Linked DNA regions of Homo sapiens: region 2 is linked to region 1. Evidence: promoter capture Hi-C in human tissues and cell types (Jung and others, 2019). All regions are on one chromosome and are shown on one strand. Each heading gives the region's core, a stretch centred on a gene start or on the middle of the fragment in contact. The rest is flanking DNA. Distances are from core to core; before and after follow the strand shown.

The links. Contacts are between HindIII fragments. The study calls those that stand out against the background at their distance.
Region 2: a fragment that was not itself captured here is called in contact with the fragment with the promoter of FAM162B in region 1 in 2 of the 25 tissues and cell types used here (H1 embryonic stem cells and mesendoderm cells).

What each region holds. Positions count from the first base shown.
Region 1 is chr6:116,763,434-116,768,969 of GRCh38, forward strand. FAM162B (family with sequence similarity 162 member B) reads right to left here and starts at 2,286. Exons shown (of 4, transcript NM_001085480.3): 1 at 1,972-2,286; 2 at 1,714-1,822. The coding sequence starts at 2,143. LOC105377963 (a long non-coding RNA gene) reads left to right here and starts at 2,935. Exons shown (of 3, transcript XR_942910.3): 1 at 2,935-3,106; 2 at 3,210-3,288; 3 at 3,633-4,587. RefSeq lists an enhancer at 1,307-1,821. The HindIII fragment of the contact is 7,101 bases long and covers 64-5,536 here.
Region 2 is chr6:116,842,017-116,847,570 of GRCh38, forward strand. No RefSeq gene overlaps it. Among named protein-coding and RNA genes, the nearest start is that of GPRC6A, 16 kb to the left of the region's middle. The HindIII fragment of the contact is 7,759 bases long and covers 1-5,300 here.

The DNA.
Region 1 (5,536 bases), core at 1,036-3,535:
TAAATAGTAATGCTTAAAAAGTTATAGAAAAATAATAAAATGAAAAATACTCAAATACTTTTATGTTTCCAATGCAAAACTGCAATGCTTTTTATAGGCATCCTGTTCTTAGTGAAATGCTCCTGTTTATAATACATCTTTTGACTATGATCTTGGGGAAATTACATTATTTCTGTAAAATGAGTCTGTTCACAAATACAGCTATGTTAAATGCAATACTGGGCATAGGTTTTCTTGACAAACAATATGCAATAATGTTGGTTCTTTACACTCTTGATTACTTGGTTAGGCCACTAGAAATAAAAATTCAAACCAATTGAGGGTGGTGGCTTACTTATTTTAATTTTTTTTTTTTTTTTTACTTCTTTGGCATTTATAGTATTAAATTTTCAGGCATCAATTAAAATTTGATAACCAGAGCTTATGATGATAAAGACTTTTCTGAGGCTAACTTTTGCTTTCAGCTAAGTCTGTAGTTTGGAGTCTATAGATCTCGAGGAAAAATAATCTTAGAAAGTGCCTCTGTAGTTGAATAAATACTGAAAACGGATTCAAATGCAGTGTTATTTCAAATTCCATGTCCATTTCTCATTTGGTGACTTGCTCCAATAAAAGAACGAAAATGCTTCAGAATTCATTACTGAGTGTACATTTCCTGCCATGTTCTCCCACCCCACCCCCTAGCTATCTGAGATGCTTTGGTAACTGATAAACTGCAATTGTTTATAAACAATAACATGGCAGGCACCATGTGAAAAACAGAAATATAGGCCCAGTTTCCATTATCCATTCTAATAGGCATTCATTACATTGTACAAATATACAGAATATCTAAAATCCTTCTTTCACGTTATGGTTTTAGTCTTTTATTTTTAAAAGATAAACTTAAAAAGTAGTAGATTGATTTTATTTTTAGTTTCCGTCCCTCTCTTTTTTACCCAATCCCTTGTAAAAATGCTGCGAAGGTTTTTGGGCTTGGCAGAAACAGAAACTTTGGAAAGATTTTTTTACAGGTTACATTTACTTATTATTAGCATTTATTTTACAGGTTACATTACCTTAGAGGGGGAGTTATTAGTTTGAGTTTTATCATCTGTCTTGGTGGGTTTAGCATGCTGAAGAGGCCCACAGTGCTGACACTCCCGCGCGTCCCACCCTGAGTAAACCCGGAGCCTAGAGGGCTGCAGAAACACGTCCGCCAGGCGTCTCCTGCCCCAGAAGAGGAGGCCGCATGGATGCGTCTTTTTTCCAGAGACCCCCCCGCCACAGCCGCCCCGCAAGCCAAGATCAGAGAACCCCTTCCTTGGGTGGGGTAGGGGGACGCCCCCGGCCAAAGCCTGGATTGCGGTCTGGCGTCCCGGCAGCCATCCGGATGCTCGCGAGGACCGTGGCCTGTTTGGCACAAGAGCCCCACTGCCTCCCAGTTCGGAGCTTGCTGGGGACCGGCAATCTGGGCGGTGCTGGAAGTGTCCCCTGAACCTCTCAGTTTTCACCCACCTTCTGCAATCTCCCTGTAAGCTTAATTGACTCTTGACACACCGCACTGGAGGCGGGGTGTGTGTGTGGGTAAACTCCGTGTGTGGTGGGTGATATTGCGAAGTGTTGGCACTGCGGCCGCTTTCGCTCCTAGGTGGCCGCGGTCGGAAGGTGGGTCACCCCGCACCCTTGCGGCCGGGGACCGACTCTCCTTCGCGCGGCGGTCGCCACACTTACGGGATCCGAGGCGGGATCTCCTCCATCGATTTGAAACGCCCTGTCCACAGCAGGATTTTCTTGTCGAACTGCGAAGGCCTGCGCTGCGTGGGGACTCGGTGAATCTCCCCTGCAGCGAAAGCAACCCAGATGGACGCGGGAACTGACGCACCGGCACAGAGGATCAGCGCGCCCTCAAGCCGACTCCCGGGCCGGCCCCTCGCTGCCCTCCCGCAACCTCCTCCCTCCCAGGACCTCCCCGTCGGAGCCCTGGCTCACCGTGACCTTGGGGCCCAGAATTGCTGGGGGCCCCGCCGCTGGAGTAGCAGGGGAGACCCCGGGGCGGAAGAGCCGGTGCGGGCCGTCGCGTGGCCTCGAGAGGCGCCCCGGGGCCGCAGCGGACTGTTAGCCCGCGGCCAAGGCGCAGTAGGCTCCCGACCGCCCTGAGCATGCTGCCCGCTTGTCCCGCGCCGCACCCGCACCTCCGGACCCAGCCACAGGCGTTGTCCCCGCAGCTCTCCTCGTCCCGCCCCGGCCTGCCGCGCGCTGGAGAGCCTGGGACGTGCAGCTGGAACCCCTGGCGCTCGCACACTCAGCTCGCTATCCCCGTCTCCGCCCCCGGCCAGCGACCCGGGATCAGGGCGTCAAGCCCCGAGGGGCTGGTTCCTCAGGAAGCAGCCTGCCTCTGTTTGAAACAGGCTCACCACCGCCTGAGGCAGTGCGTGTAGCTCCTTTTAAATTCTTTGTATTGAGTAGAAATGTATTCCCGCCAGGCTTTTAGCCTTTGATTCCATCGTTTGTTCCCCAGGAGAATAAATCTAAATCCTCTCTTCCAGGAAGAGACAACAATCCTTCAAGTGCAGGAAACTGAAGACATTTCCCAATTAAGTGTTAAGGGCACTCCACTAACTTCTGGATGAGATTTCTTGAAGTTAGCTCCTCACCTCATCGTCTCCCACCCCCATACCTTTTCTCTTTCCTACGGAAAACAATCTCAATTCCTCCAAGTGCCTTTCTCTATCTTTTCTTCTTCTTTTCAGAGACAGTCTCTGGCTCTGTCACTCAGGCTAAAGTGCAGTGGCATGCTGATAGCTCATTGTAACGTCGAACTCCTGGACTCAAGTAGTCCTCCCACCTTAGCCTCCAGAGTAGCTAGGGCTTTGGTCGTGCGCCAGCACGCTCCGCTATTTTTTTTTTTTTTAAGAGATGGGATCTCACTATGTTGTCCAGACTGGTCTCCAACTCCTGGCCTCAAGCTATCAGCTGGGCTCTGCCTCCCAAAGCACTGGGATTACACGTATGAGCCGCCATGCCAGCTTCCTACCTCTTCATCTCTTAGCCCACAAACTCTCCACACTCCCTTCAAAATGTGCCTTTCTTCTGTCACCTTCCACCATCTCCTCTATGCTAAAAGGTAAAAGAATCTACTATTTTCAGGCATTAAATGGTAACAGGGATTCAGATTCAATGATTGGAGAGAAGGGTTGTACAAGCAATTTACTTATCTTGTTCCACAGACAACAGACCTCCTGCCAAGTCAAAGTGCTCATCAGCCCAGCACCAGGCCGAGCTCACCCTCCTCTGCTATTACTGCCTGTGAGTTTCCCTCCTTATCTAGACACTGCTTTGCACTTGTTGGATTTCTAGATATTTTGCTTCCTAACTAGACTGTCAGGCTCTTGAAAGCTATAACTTTTCTGTAACTGCCAGCTCAGTTTTTTTTTCTTTTTACATAACCGTGTTAAACAAAAAAAGAGGGGTTAATAGCTCTGTGAAGACATACATTTAGAGGAGCGCTTGCAGAAGGAACATGGGCTTTGCCTTCACACCTAGGTTTAAATCCCGGATTTGTGACTTAAAAGTTGCACAATCATGAGCAGTAAATCATTTAAGTTATAAGTCTTGGTCTCTTTTGTAAAACCAGAATTCCTATCTTTTAGGTTTATTCATGCAATGACTACCAGTAACCAGCTACGTGCCAGCTACCTCTCAGAGCTGGGGATGGAGCAGTGATGACATCAGGTGAAGATGAAGAAAAATAAAACAAGGTGAAAAAGAATAAGCAGGAGTAGAGTGAGAAGATATTTAGAAACCATGGTTAGCAATGTCCTTCTAAATGTGCCTGGTGTGTAATAATACTTCAGAAGATAATGATTTCTTTCCCCGTCACATTCTTTAGTCCCAAAACACAAGGGCATTTTAATTTATGAAATCTCCTGTGGGGAACTAGGAGCTCCCTGACCTTCAGGAGTTGTGATTATATTCCCAAGATATAGCTGAAAAATTGGCACTTAGTAGATATTTAATAAGTATTTGTTAAATAAATGAATAGATGAATACAAGTCTTCGAAAACAGAATAGTCTGCACCTAGGCTAGTTTACGAAAAGACTGAGATGCTTGAGGACATTCTATGTCCTTTTAAACTTCATACTTTCAGTGTCTATCATGTTGCTTACCACATAGCGGTCTCCAAATAAGTGTTTATAAAACTCAACTGAATGAATTCCTGCCTGAGAAAGTATGTTGCCATAGCTAATATTGCTCCAGCATTATGGTACTTGAAGATTCTTGCATTATTTAAATGTGGTTTTTTCTATTAGTATTTTATTTGTCTTCACATCACTGAGAGGGAGTATCCATAGAGCTAGAGAAAGCCATCACTGAGAAACAACCAATCGTTAATAATTCACTAAGAAATATTAAACAAGGGAAATAAGTTTATTTCCCTGGAGGGAATCAAATGTCATAAATATACACAGGATTTTCTATTTCGAGCTTCTCCAGTATTGCAGAACTACAGGTCAACAGAATAAGCTCAAGTCATGAGAGAAAGAACAATTTGCTGTTCTCTATTCCTGATGGGATTAAAATATCACTATTTGGCAGTAGTCTACATAAATAAATTACTTACAGCTGCATTAGAGATTTTTTTCAGTTCTATAATTAGAACAAGTAAAAAAAAATTTGAATAAACTTTTAATATAATAATACAGTAATTATATTCCTTTATTTCTTTTTCTAATGAGGACAGCACATTTTTATTTTATTTATTTAATTTTTTGAGATGGAGTTTCCCTCTGTTGCCCAGGCTGGAGTGCAGTGGTGCGATCTCGGCTCACTGCAACCTCTGCCTCCTGGGTTCAAGCGATTCTCCTGCCTAAGCCTACCAAGTAATGGGATTACAGGTGCCTGCCACCACACCCAGCTAATTTTTGTAGTTTTTTAGTAGAGACGGGGTTTCACCATGTTGGCCAGGCCGGTCTGGAACTCCTGACCTCAGGCGATCTGCCCGCCTATGCCTCCCAAAGTGCTGGGGTTACAGGCGTGAGCCACCACGCCTAGCCAGCACATTTATTCACTGAACAAATATTGACTGAGTGCTTCCTATGTGCTGGATACTGTTTTATTTCTGAGATTATAGCAGGTAACCAAACAAAAATCTCTGTTCATTACAGAGCTTATTAATCCATGCAGTTTTCGTTTACTCACTGTGTTCTATGTTATTTTTCATTTCAAAGATTCATGTAATTTGCAGTTTGTTTGAACATATGATTGTCAGTATTTTTCCTTCAAGCCTTGTTTTTGATTAGAATGGCTCACATTTTCCTTTTCTATAGCTAATGTAGTTACTTAAGATACACTGTTATAACTAGGACTAGATTTTAAATAAAGTAATTCCATAAACACTGCAGAGTGTAGGTAATTTTTTTTTCTTAGTTGGAAGCTGTGTGCTTCTTGCTGGACTAAAGCAGAGGATGCAAAGATAGAGCTGCAGAGCTGCCCCCAGGAGCTCTCAGTCTGGCTGGGATGAGGTTCCCTCATCAGGAAATGACCCGCTCCCAA
Region 2 (5,554 bases), core at 171-2,670, 78 kb after region 1:
ATGATTTATAAATCACTTTTCTACTAAGATGTACCTTTCTATGAGATAAATAAAATTTACACTTTACAAAAGGTAAGGATGAATCTTTAGTTCTGCTTTTATTCAGATCAAGTGTCTATCCTGCCAAAATTACTAGAAAAATTGTCAGCTCTAACATTTATAGATATTTTTTCCTTTCTTAATTTCCATCTACAGATATACTAAAGATTCTGGAGCAGATTCAGGAAGTCAAATTAATTGGCTATATATACTGAAATTTGAAGTAGACATAATTTCAAGAAAACTGTGTACTATTTCTCAATATTTTATACTATTAATATATTTATCCTAGAATACTAAGATAAAATAGGATAAAAGATAAAATGCAAATTGTTTTTCTTTTCTCCTACTAAGTATGTAAACATTGCTTTTAATGAGATGTGGTTGAAACATTTGGTTTGAACTTCATAGTTCAGTTTTTGTGTTTATCTAATAGTAACAGAAAATATGTATTTTGGAAAACACAGATGATCAAAGGCTTCCCCCATTTGTCTTCAAAGACAGTAAAGAAAAAAACAGGAAAAGAGTAATAATTAACATTTTCCAACTTTTGAACTTTGTTACTATCTTTTAGTGTATTTTTACATTTAACTTTCATAGTTAGTTTATAACCATTATACTTTGCTTTAGTAAACAAAAGATGATGAAAGCATTTTCTCGTGATCATAAAGTAAGCAAAAAAAACCCCTAACTCCACTTTAAAAATCCTCCAGGAGATATAAGAAAAACAAAACATTAATGAGTTACAGAGTCAAAGAATGACAGAATGCTAGCAAAAGTCTTCTGATGACTTCCTAGTTTGGGTACCAGGAAAATCAAATAAAGCGTTTTATGTGAGCTACAAGAGGAAGAGACAAAGAATTAAAATCTCTAGGTTAGTTTTTCCAAACTGTTCCTTAAGATGTTAATAGTTGTCCTTTGATAAAAGAATTTTTATGTATGAATAAAATGTGAAACACTGGGTTGAATTAAGAACAGTGGTCAGATTATTTATTTATTTATTTTCTCTAGCGCTCTCACATCTCAGCCTTTATTTAGCCTAGAGAGACATAGCCTGCAGCATTTCCTAAACCTGGAAAATGGATGTGCTGCCACTGATTTTCCACTAGTTACTTTTGGTCTTCCCACATGCTTCCTCTCACAGAGCCATAATCATGATGGGTAAACCTTTTATAGTCCTAATTTCCAAAGTAGCTTCAAGTCCAGTCATTTATTACAGGGCACTAAGGGAGCATTTTAAAAAAACTGGTGTTTTATTGTTGATTTATATTTTAATAGCTAGAAAATATGATCTGATCTCATTATATACTGATAACAAGTATAAATCAGTACTGTATAATACTGATTTTTTTAAGCTGTTATTAAGACTTTCTTTGTGACATGGTCAATTTTTATAAACAGCCTATGTATGCTTAAAAAGGATGCAAATTCTCTATTTGTCAGTCTTAAAAATACATATCATGACGCTCCTAAATATTATTTATTCTTACTGTTTTTGCTCTTTTGCTTGAGCTATCAATCTCCCATGGTTAGATATATCCTACAAAGTATTCCTATCTAGAATAAACATTAAAAAAACTCTTATAAATCCATAAGGAAAAAGCATTCAACCCAGTAGGAAAATAGACAAAAGACTTTAAAGAAACTTCACATAAAAGGATATTCAAAGAACCAATAGACGTATGAAAAGAGGTGCAACTTCATTTACTGAAATAAAAGTTAAAACAACAAATACCAGTGCTTGATTCAGAATGGTTAAAATGAAAACGTACTGGGGCCAGGCATGGTGGCTCACACCTGTAATCCCAGCACTTTGGGAGGTTGAGGCGGGTGGATCACCTGAGGTCAGGAGTTCAAGACAAGCCTGGCCAACATGGTGAAACCCTGTCTCTACTAAAAACACAAAAATTAGCCAGATGTGGTGGCGGGCTCCTGTAATCCCAGTTACTCAGGAGGCTGAGGTGGGAGAATTGCTTGAACCCAGGAGGTGGAGGTTGCAGTGAACCAAGATCGTGCCACTGCGCTCCAGCCGGGGCAACAGAGGGAGACTCTGTCTCAAAAAAATAAAAAATAATAAAATAAAATAAGGAAGAAAAAGAAAAGAAAGAAAGAAAGAAAAACTGTTGGTAAGGATTCAAAGCAGCCAGATTTATCATTCACTCCTGGGGGAAATATAAATTACTACAACATTACAAAGCTGTTTGCCAGTATGTACTAACGTTAAACACATGCATACACCTATTACCCAGAAATTTCACTCCTAGGAAAGCCTCCCAACAGAAATATACATGTAACTTCACCAAAAGGCACTTATAATAATCTTTATAGTAGCTCAATTTGTGAGATGCAAAACTAGAAACAACTGCAATGTCCATCAACAGTAGAATGTAAACACAAATTTTGGTATATTCACCCATACTAACTATATCTAGATGCAACAATTGGATACAGCTCCCAAACATAATGCTGAAAAAAAGAAGCTAAACACAAAAGAATGCTTAGTATATTATTCCACTTATATAGAGTTAAAAAGCAATCAAAATCATCCTATAGTGTTAGAATTTGAGATAATGTTTACCCTTGAGTTCAAGTAACTGGAAACGGAACAAGGGGATTCTGGAATGCTGATGATCTGTTTCTCAGTCTGGGTGCCAGGTACAGAATTTGATAAATGAAAATTAATTGAACTGTGCACTTACAGTTTCTTTACATTTATGCAGGTATATCATATGTATAAAAACTATGTTAAAATAAAGCTATCCACTAATGGGGATTTGTTAATGTCATTTTGAAATTTGGCCAGTTTTGCTGTATATATTTCAAGCTACATTACTAGGTGTACATATACATGTTTATGATAGTTACATTCTCTTCGTGGGTTTTTCATTTTATCCCTAGTATCATGTTTTGTCTTAAATCCTATTTTGTCTGATACTAAAATTATACTGCCAGCTTTCTTCTGGCTAGCACTTACCTGGTATATATTACTCCATAATTTTTTGACTTTTGTGTTCCATTTTGTTTTAGGATTGTCTTGTAAGCACATACAGTTAAGAGTTTTTTAAAAAAAATCTACCTGATTTCAAAATTCTCTGATTTTAATAGGTAAATTAATCCATTTACCTGTAGTGTGATTCCTACTACATTTGAAGTTACTTCCATCTCTTCTTTTCCTTTGCTTGCCACCCTCCTTTACTGCCTCATACTGAAATGATAAAGTTTTCTTTATTTTTTCACTTTTACTCGTTGGTGTGAAAGCTATCAATTGCATATTGAAGATAAGTTTATCATTAGTCTTTCTGGTTTCTTTGTAGCTAAACAGTGTTTCTCTCAGGTTACACTTCATATTTTCCATTCATCTTATTTTCCATTTTTACTATGTTATGCTGAACTGGGGATGTATTTAACTATTTTTATTGTGGTGTGATATATGTACAGGTAACAGCACAACATCTTGATTAATTTTTACAAATTAAGCATATGTATACCTACACTGACATCAAGATACAGAATATTGCCATCACTCTAGAAGACTCCCTAAGCCTACTGCCAGTCATTACCTTCCAGTAAGGATAGCTACTCTTCTGACTTTTATCACATAGAGTTTTATCTGGATTTAAATTACATATAAATAGACTCATACAGCATTTGGTTTCTTTTGCTTAGCAATATGCTTATGAGGTTTATCCATTTTGTCATATAAACTGTAATTAATTTTTTTCAGTGCTGTATAGAATTCCATTGTAAAAATATATCACATTAATTTATCCATTCTACTATTGGCTGATATTTGGATTGTTCCTAGATTGGGATACTAAAAAAATCATCCTATGAATATTCTTGTAATATATTTTGGTAAATATACGTGTATTTTTACAACATATTTTCAAGGGATAAAATTTAATTGATGGGTCAAAAGGTAAATGTATGTTTAGCTTCAGTAGAAAGTGCTAATTGGTTTTCAACATAGTTGTATAAATTTTCAGTCTCTGTAGTAATGTATGAGAGTCCCAATTGTTTCTTTTCCTTTTTATACTTGGTATCATCATCTTTTTCATTTTAGCCATTTTAGTGGATGTCTCATAAGCTTAATGTGCATTTTACTGGTGAACAAAGTATTGAACAACTTTCTAAATGCTGATTAGCCATTTGGAAATATTTTTCATGAAGTGCCTTTTCTAAGTGTTTTTACCTTAAAAACAGAGTTTGTCTCTTTTTCTCATCAACTTAAAGGAGACTTTTATAATTTTGGATGCAAGTTCTTCATTAGACACATGTATTAAAAATATTTTCTAGCACTCTGTATCTTGTTTTTTCAGATTCCTTTCCATTGTTATTCCCTAAAGCATCAGGGAAAAACAGTGTACCTTTAGGTGAGAATGACTTGTCCAAGAACATAACTTCACAGATAAGTTAGGAAAACATAGTTCTTTTGTTGCTAAACTGGCAACTTCCATAAATGCTAGCAAAACTTCACAATGAGACTGAAGCTGCATTTCAAGAGGGGTGAGCAAATGCTATAGTTTTGGCACTGAGGGAGATATTTGCTAGTTTCACTTGATCCCTAGGCTCCTGAGTTAGAATTGACTCCTAGGACAAAATGTACGCTGGCCATCAATTGGATACCTTAAATTGAGGTATGTTTAGCTTTAGTAGAAAGTGCTAAACCAGCAATGCACGTTTTTAAGTTAGTTCTTCCTTTAAAACTTAGAAAATGAATTTTGATATTAGGCAGATGAGCATCAAAACATGAGTTAGCCAAGGCTAGGCTCAAATTCTGTCTTTATCACTTACTAGTCAAATGAACGCAGTCAAGTAACTTAATTTGTCAGTTCCCTTATCTGTAAAATATAGTTGATAATGCTGACCTCCTAGAGCTGCTATGAAGATTAAATGAGGCCTAGTATGGAAAACACCTGTTTTAGCACCAGATATCCGTCAGTAGCTGCTTAATAACTTTATTAATAGTAGGAGAATAAGTAGAATCAGCCTCTCCCTCATACTTGAAGTGTGCGGGTGAGGCACTTATCCATCATTTGTAATCTGTAGTTCACTTTGAAAGCATTGAGTCCAAAGTTTAGATGAGATTTAAAGCCCCCTAAGCAGCTCAGAAGCAAAACGCTGAAGTGTTGACCCTGTGTGGTGAGAGGACCTCCCTCCAAAAGTTCTAGATTTCACATTCTAGGCTGAATCCAATCATTTTTACAGTTATTTTGAAACATTTAAAAAGTTATTTATTATATTTGAAAAAATTTTCTATTAAAAAAGAGATTATATAATAGGACAGATGTTTGCTCACATGCCCACATTTTTTTCCTTGTTGTTAGGAACAAGGCTTGTGAAAATCTAGAAAAATATTATTCAACATCCCCACCTACTGGTAACTTGAAATAATATATTCCATTTTCTAGCACTCTGTGCTTCTACATAGCCACTTGGTGAACCCCTTCACCTCCCTTCAGTATTTGCTCAAACATCACCTTCTCAACGAGGCCTACACTGATGACCTTCATTA